Linked DNA regions of Homo sapiens: region 1 is linked to region 2. The links are contacts of gene promoters, found by promoter capture Hi-C in blood cells and fetal thymus (Javierre and others, 2016). All regions are on one chromosome and are shown on one strand. Each heading gives the region's core, a stretch centred on a gene start or on the middle of the fragment in contact. The rest is flanking DNA. Distances are from core to core; before and after follow the strand shown. Region 1 has its middle 38 kb from the start of BMP3. Region 2 holds the start of LINC01088 (long intergenic non-protein coding RNA 1088).

Region 1 (4,228 bases), core at 1,453-3,952, 2.0 Mb after region 2:
TAACTCTCCTTAGATTGTATTTTTCTTAGCTCTAAACAGGGGACCCAGCTTTGCTTAGCTACTTCCAAAGATTAGGGCAGGGCAGATTTTCATCATAAGTTACTAGACAGAGTTTCTAGGGATGGCAAGAAACGTCTTTGGCTCTCTCTTGAGGAAAGGGCAAAAGTGCATGCCTCAATCAAATGTTGATGCCTTTGGGGCAAGGTATAATGCTCTGTATGCAACAAAACCATGCAGGTACAAACTTCAGAGAGACAATGTAAATAGAAGTAGACAGAATTAGAATTTGAAAGCTTATGGAGTCATGACTTATCTGCCTTTTGTTTCTCTGGCTTTTAAAAGGGATATTGGAAAATATTTTACTTTTTGGCACTCTATTTTTTTTTATTTTAAAATGCAAATTTCAGCATTTCTCACCAAGTGACAAATGTAAAGTGTTTTAGAATTTTCAGAGGAATATTGTTTTCCTAGACACTGTTTACCAAAACAGTTTACCTAGACTACAGTTTACCAAAAATTCTGAAATCGAAGTCTGAAGAAGTAGTAGACTTTAATTAAATGACGAAGCAAGAAGGATACCATTTCTAAGTCTTGTGTAGGTATATGATTTTTTCATTTTCTGCTACAACCAGATTCTGCCACTGAAATATTTATAATATTGAGATTTGGGACCAGGGTGAGATTTTGTTTTAGAGTAGGAATGAACTGAACCACTTATTCTCAGACAAAATGCATGCAGTCAAGAACTCCATGACTATCTGTGAGACAGATGGGAACTCCTGATGCATACCAGGCGACTGTTCTTCAGCAAAGAAAACAAAAACCCAGGTGCAGAATGTATTGCAACAGTGCAGATGGGTCTTCAAGGGTGTTCACTGTTTACAAGAAAGAGGAACAGAGCTCTCATCATTGAGTGACCACTCTTCCTGGGGATCTATTTCCCCCAGCTGGCCTCAAGCAGAATATTCCCCCAAAGGCCCAAGCACCAGCTGTCAATGACCTCTGCCCCTTCAAAGAGAGAGACTGGGTGGCCGCTTTCACCCTGTCAAGATGTGCTAATTACTGGAATGCTGAGAATCAGAGCCTGCATCCTACAATGGTATTTCTATAGCTTGTCCACCTCCTACACATCTTTCTCCTCTTGTTCTTAAATCTTTTAAATATACAACAGCTTACATCAATTTCTCTATAGATTGTTGGCATCTTTTCTATCCAGTTATATGTTCTCAGCTCCCATATTTTATATTTTATATTTTATAAAAGGATCTTGTATACTTTATATTTTGTCAAATTATTTAAAATTTCCCTTTCTTTAGGCAAGGCAATCTTCAATTAAAAATCCCTTCATTTAAGAGCAATTTGGAAAGAGAGAAAAGCCCTCTTGATATCTACTCTATGCCAGAGGCATGTCCATCCATAGACATGGCTTGATCTAATTATCATCATAAACCTAGAAGAGAACATTATTATTCACAGTTGCCAGGTATGGAAACTGAGGCTAAGGGAGGCTGATACTCTTTATATATGACTCTGCAATCCTTCCTCTCCCAATTCGTAGTTTACACTGCCTAATTATTCTTCCTAAAATGTACCTCTGATTATTTCATACTCTAGCATCCTTTTCTTGTCTGGTAAAGGAAGTACAAACTCCTCTGTTGGCCTTTTAAGGTGTAGTCTTTGTCTGCTCTTCCAACTGTGCCTCAAACTTCTCACTGACACAAAGCTTTTCAGCTATATCCCAGGTTTCTGCCCTTTCTCTAGCAATTCGGTCCTCTCTGACCCATCTGTCTTACTCTTTAGTCTTGCCCTTCTCACAGGGATATCTTAGCATATTCCGCAGATCAGCACATAGATCATCTTCCTCACGAAAACTTTCTTCCACCTTTAATATGTGTGAAAACTATTATAATTTTTGCATTGAACTTTTAACTCTTAACACTGTTCATTAAAGATAATATTGAACAATCTAGGCTCACACTGAAAATCATCATCAAAATGCAATATAATAATTATCTTCATGGGACACTGTACTAGACATCATGTAAGAAAAATTCAAGAAAAGTGACGGAACTTCTGAATTCTTCAGAGTAGTGTCAAAAGATAGAGAGAAAAAAAGAACTGAGCCAGATAAAATATCATAAAGTACAGAGATTGTAATATGAAATTGAGTTTCTAAGTAAAATTTTATTGTCATTTGTTTTATTTTATTTAAAAGCATAAAAATCAAAGGTTTTCAGATGCAAATATTCTATAGGGATGGCTGAAGTAAGGAAAATATATACTGCATCCCTACAATTGGCAAAATCCTACTTATTATCTCATTTCATACATAAGCAAAGAGGTAATAAATGTTTAATAACAATCTCTGAAAAGAAAAAAAACCCTGATTTGAAGTCTTTGCCAATTTCTGTAGTGTAAATATTTTCACTACTAATATTTCTATTTAAAGCTACGAATGTGGCATCTCTGATCATGGAGTTAGAAGAGATGTTCACACCTGCCTCTCACACTCTGGTACAACGTCCCTCAAGCACACTTCTATAAAAACTAATTATTTTCCCTATTAAGCAGATTAAGGAAGTGAGAATCAGAGACGTTTTATAACTTGCACAAGATCACACAGTCAATATACAGAAAAGAGGTGATTTTAGTCTGCTATGTAAGATTACAGATTCCACTCTTTTTGGCTAGAGCGCACGCCTGATCTCTATCAGCAAGTTACTGAATTAAGCAAATTGAACATAGACATCCCTCAATACCCTCTTGTTTCTACCAGGAGTAGAGAAACAGAACAACAAGGAATAATCACATAGTGGACAGGGCCTCAATAAAAGACTTCAATGGGGAAGAAATCTCTAGTAGCATAGAGTGTTGATTCTCAGGAACATAAAACAAAAGATGAGCATAAATTGAGCTTTTGCCTTTTCTCATGAGCTTCCTCTATTTACCTAAGCCTCTTACTTTTATAGAAACCCATTACTTTCTGTTGGCTCTTAACCTAGCCACACAATGAATTTCTCCTTATAGTCAGTATTTTTCCTCCCTCTCTCCCTATTTCCTTTCCTTCCTTTTTTCTACATTCGTTTTTTCCTTCTTCCCTTTCCTTTTTTCTTGTTTCTTTCTGCTGATACCATTTTATTGTTGTTCTTTAATTATCAAGGGTCAGAAATACATATACTATTTCCCAATGTTACACACCCAACATAACTCATCCGGAATTGTCAGGAAGGTAGTTAGCTCCAATAGAATATTAAAAAGTGGTCACAGGTCAGGCATGGTGGCTCATGCCTGTAATCCCAGTGTTTTAGGAGCCCAACACCAACACAGGAAGATTGCTTGAGGCCGAGAGTTTGAGACCAGCCGGGGCAATGTAAAAAGACACTGTCTTGACAAAAAGAAAAAAAAAGTGATCACAGAATCAGGGTCTACTAATTAAGTACATAAATATGTATTGTGAGGGTCAAATAGATTTATCCAGAGGAATATAAAACACTCCTATTAAAAGTTTGGAATGCAAAATTAACTTCTGGGATAAAAAGCTGAATTTTGGTTTTCTCTGTGTACAAACCAAGGTTAAAGTGTAAATGTTTCTGCACATAACTCAGATTCCAATATCATACAGAGGAAGAAGAATAAGTACTATAAAGAGTGGACAAAGTACACTTCCTCTTATTCCCATAATAAGCTTGCCCAATACATTGTTAAAAATGAAATTAATTTCTAACTTAGCCTTTATAATAAGAAGGATCAAGACCAATTCTATGGTAGTTGACATTGCATATCAAGTAAAATATAAAACAACTCATGACGAAAAGAGCTGCTCCAGTTAAAATAAATGAGGGTTTTAAAAAGTCACATACTCAAGAGTCACTTTGTAGCCCTTAGTTTTTTTGTCTAAAGTATTCCCAGGAGCAGATTGGTCCTTCTCCCACCCACCAGCACCCTCTCTCATCCCCCATTTTTCAAGTCATTTGTCAGCACACAGCGGTATCCAAGGTGCCTGGACTCTGTCAGGTTTTCATCTGGAAAGCAAAGCAAAGCCGTCTGAAGCCACTCACACATTGATCTCCTACCAGTGAACAGAATCCAACTTACATGAAACCTGCCACTCCTGAACCATGCTTACAATAGAGCACTCTGAGCAGCTGTGACCCCTCTATCTAGAGCACCATGTCAAAAATGCATAAAAGGAGTAACAGAAGAGAGAAGAAACAGAAATGGAGACCAG
Region 2 (4,048 bases), core at 1,419-3,918:
TACTTACAAGAAGTCTTGAATCAAATAGCGTTAACCCCCCAACTTGTTTGTTCTTTTTTAAAGTTGCTATTGTTTCTTGCCACTGAGCTAAAAAATAGTTGCTGTTGACTATTTTAGGTTCTTTGCATTTTCATATGTGTTTTGTCAATTTCTACAAAAGTCCTCCTGGGATTTTGATTGGAATTTGCTGGAATCTGTAGAATAATTTGGGAAGAAATGACATCTTTAAAATATTGAGTAATATTTTATATATTACTGGCTAATTAATATATCTATTTATTTTGTTTTTTCTTTATTTTTTCTCAACAATGTTTTAAGATTTCTGTTTATAGGTTTTCCACATCTTTTATGTACATTATCCCTATTTTATATATTTTTATGTTATCATTAGCGACATTTAAAACATTCAATTTCCAATAACTTGTTGCTAGTATATAGAAATTCAGTTGATTTTATATGCCAATCTTGTATCCCGAAATCTTGCTAAGCTTACTTATTAGTACAAGTAGCTTTGATTCTCGATTCCATCACATTTCTATACAAATGATCATATTGTCTGTGAATAAAGACAGTTTTATTTCTTCTTTTCTGATTTCTGTGCTTATTTATTTTTCTTTTCTTTTTTTATTGTACTAGCTGAAACTTCCAGGACAAAGTTGAATAGAAGTGTTGAGAGTAAAAATTCTTGTCTTGTTCTGGTCTTTTATCTTTCAGTATAATACATTTTCATAGGTGCTTTTTTTTGGTTGAGAAAATTCTCTTCAGTTTCTTTTTCACTGAGTCGTTTTATGAGGAATGGATGTTGGATTTTGCCAAATGGTTTGTTGTGCCTATTTTATGTGCCTATTATGTACATGTTGAATAATTTCTTTTTTCTTTTTTTTTTTTTTTTGAGACGGAGTCTCGTTCTGTCACCCAGGCTGGAGTGCAGTGGCATTATCTAGGCTCACTGCACACTCCACCTCCTGGGTTCATGCCATTCTCCTGCCTCAGCCTCCCGAGTAGCTGGGACTACAGGCGCCTGCCACCAGGCCTGGCTAATTTTTTGTATTTTTAGTAGAGATGGGGTTTCACCATGTTAGCCAGGATGGTCTCGAAATCCTGACCTTGTGATCCGCCTGCCTCAGCCTCCCAAAGTGCTGGGATTACAGGCGTGAGCCACCGCGCCCGGCCCTGAAGAATTTCTTTTAGCATTTCTTGTGTAGGTCTCCTGGAAAAAAAATCTGATTTGGGGAGAAGGGTATGAAAATGTCTTTATTTTTCATTTTTGTAGGATATAGGACTATGCTACAATTTTATGTAGAATCTATTTAGAATCCTATACAGAATTCCAGACTAACATGTTTCACTTTCAGCTCTTTAAAGATGTCATTCCATTGTTTTGGAGTAATTGTTTCTGAAGAGAAATTAGACATAATTTTTATCATTTTTTTCTTCCGTGTAATGTTTCTTTTTTCTCTGACTGCTTTTAAGATTTTTGTATCATCTTTGGCTATCAACAGAGTGAGTATGGTGTGCCTAGTTCTGTTTTTGTGTTTATCCTCTTTTGGGGTTACTATGATTCCTGATGCTGAGGTTTGATATTTTTAATCAATTTTGAGAAATTCTTGGCCATTATGTTTTCAAGGATTTCTTCTGACTCATTTTCTATCTCTCACAGATGCAATTACATATTTACTAGGCTACTTAATATTGTCCTAGAGATCATAGACTCAAGTTTTTCACTCATTCCCCCTTTTATTTATTTATTTATTTTTGGATAATTGACCTGTCCTCAGGTTTACTTCTGCTTTTTGCTGCTGCTAATAGGCTACTGTTGTGTTTTATGGCCTGTTAGACTCCTAATATGTATTCTCTTTTGATGACAGTGTATTTTAAAAACAAATTTTGACATTGCAGTTTGGTTTCTTTTCATACTTTTCATTACTCTGCTGAAATTCTCTATATATTCATGCATGCTCTCTACCTTTTCCACTGAATTATTTGACATATTTATCATAGTTATGCTGAAGTTACTCCCTGATAAATCTAACGTCTGTGCTTTCTAGAGTCTCAGCCTGTTGACTGTTTTCTCATTTGATTATTGCTCACATTTTTTCTCTTTGTGGGTCTCAAAATTTTTTACTCTATGTTGGATATTGTGAGAAAAATAGTAGAGATTGAGAAAATTAATATTTATTTACCCTAAAAAAGTGCATACTTTTTTTGTTAGACCTTTTCTTGGGAAAGTTGAGGAAATCTGTTGTATATTTGAGGTATGTGGGATTATTTCAGCTTTAGTTGGATTAGTTTACCACTGACTTCAAATGTTTTGAAAACAGAATAAGGTCTTTTCTATCACTAGGGCTTGTGATCTGAGCACTGGCAAGATTTCAGAGATCTCTGTGTGCTCCCAGACTGTTTTGGTTGCTAGGGAGTTCTTTTTCCTTTCCTGTTTCTGACTTTATTAATCTCAGGAGGTCTCTCTTCTTTTTGCTCTGCTGCTTCAAGCCTTTGGCATCCAGTGCCTTGTACTTAATGAAAGTTTGCAACACTCTGAGCAACTGTTCTCAGTTCTTCTGCCTTATTTCTGGCCTCCGTTGCAACTGTTTTGACCTAGTGAAGGCCTAGACTTTCTCAGACAGATTTCTTTTAACTCTTCTGCCCTGACTCCAGTCTTCACTGGGATGCTGCCTTGCACTTAGGGAAGGTTCACATGCCTCAAGGATCTCTCTCTCTCAGATTTCTTGACTTTCCCTCAGTCTTCAGTATAGTCCTCCTCTGTGCCTGGTGAAGACCTGTGGTAAAGTGCTGGCAGGTGAGTACAGCTTGATGGTGTGGATGGGTTCCTTGGGACTCCAGCATGTCAAGCTAGTTCACACACAGGTCTTAATAGTTGTCTAAGATTCATGTAGTTCCTCATTTTCTTTTCTGTGGTAGATTCTGTTTCCTGCTGCACCACCAGGGATGAAAAAATTCACTGGTCTCTTCTTTTATAGAACGGGATCATAACTATACAGATTTTAGTTAAGTTAGCTTTATTAGTATTCTCAGCTTTTTTAATGGGATAAAAAGCAATGATATTATGGATTATCTGACTTTTCCTTTAGTATTAGGTTTGCCCAATCATCTCCATGATTTCTAAATTCCAAACTTCTTGAATAAATAAAATTTAAAAGAAAACATTGTACTAAAGTCAAAAGAAGGGTTTTAAGGCATAGTTCTACTTTTTACTGTCCATGTATCCTTGGATAAACTACTTCTCTGAAATTGTATTGCTTGCTTTTTCAGCTTGTTGAGTCTTTCATAAATTTAAGGGTTGGAATATGTCTCTCAGACAGAAATTGATAGAGCTTTGCAAGTCTTCAGATGTATTCAAGTTTGGTAAACACTGGGTTAGGCCATGGATAAAAGATTGGTCTTTGTGTGTTCATAAGAAAACCTGGATAGGAAGCTCTTCTTCTTACAGAAAGCCTCGATTGAGAAGTAAAGCTGGGACTATTAGTCCGTGTTCTGCAGTGAAATAATGGTAGCCATGCATAGATTGATTTAAGATCTATGCATGTTAAGATACCTGTCTTAACACAGGTAATAGTCACATCAGGGAAAAGAGCAACAGGCAGAACTCTTGGCTTTGTGTAAGAGCCCAAGGAAAGGGCCTGAGAGAGTACACACTGTATCAAAGTGTAGTGTTAATGTGAGGTGTCGGGAAAAAGGTCTTGGGTGTGTGTGTGTCTGCATAATATATGTGTGGAAAACTCTCAGTGCTGGTCCTTTGAGATATGTCTGTGAAAACTCTTTCAATTAACAAAAATAACCAACATTAATTGAATACTTTTTATGTGCCAGTCACTGTTCCAAGTTCTCTACAAAAGGTAATTCTTTAGTCCTTATAGTAATACTGTAGTGGTGCTGATACTATTTTTATCTTCATTTTTCAGAGAGGAAGCTAAATCACGTAAAAATTAAGAAACAGCTCAGCGTTTCACAGCTAGTAAGTAACAGAGATGGGCTTGAGACCCAGATTGGCAGGATCCAGGTCTTGTGCTCATGACGACTCTGCTATGGT

The links. Contacts are between HindIII fragments. The CHiCAGO score rates a contact against its expected background, and 5 or more counts as called.
Region 1: a fragment that was not itself captured here is called in contact with the fragment with the promoter of LINC01088 in region 2 in 1 of 17 cell types (M0 macrophages); the score reaches 5.1 in M0 macrophages.

Annotation. Positions count from the first base shown.
Region 1 is chr4:80,990,182-80,994,409 of GRCh38, forward strand. No RefSeq gene overlaps it. Among named protein-coding and RNA genes, the nearest start is that of BMP3, 38 kb to the right of the region's middle. The HindIII fragment of the contact is 1,962 bases long and covers 1,722-3,683 here.
Region 2 is chr4:78,969,080-78,973,127 of GRCh38, forward strand. It overlaps LINC01088 (long intergenic non-protein coding RNA 1088), which reads left to right and starts at 2,669. Exons shown (of 6, transcript NR_038342.1): 1 at 2,669-2,797; 2 at 3,921-3,973. The HindIII fragment of the contact is 4,785 bases long and covers 487-4,048 here.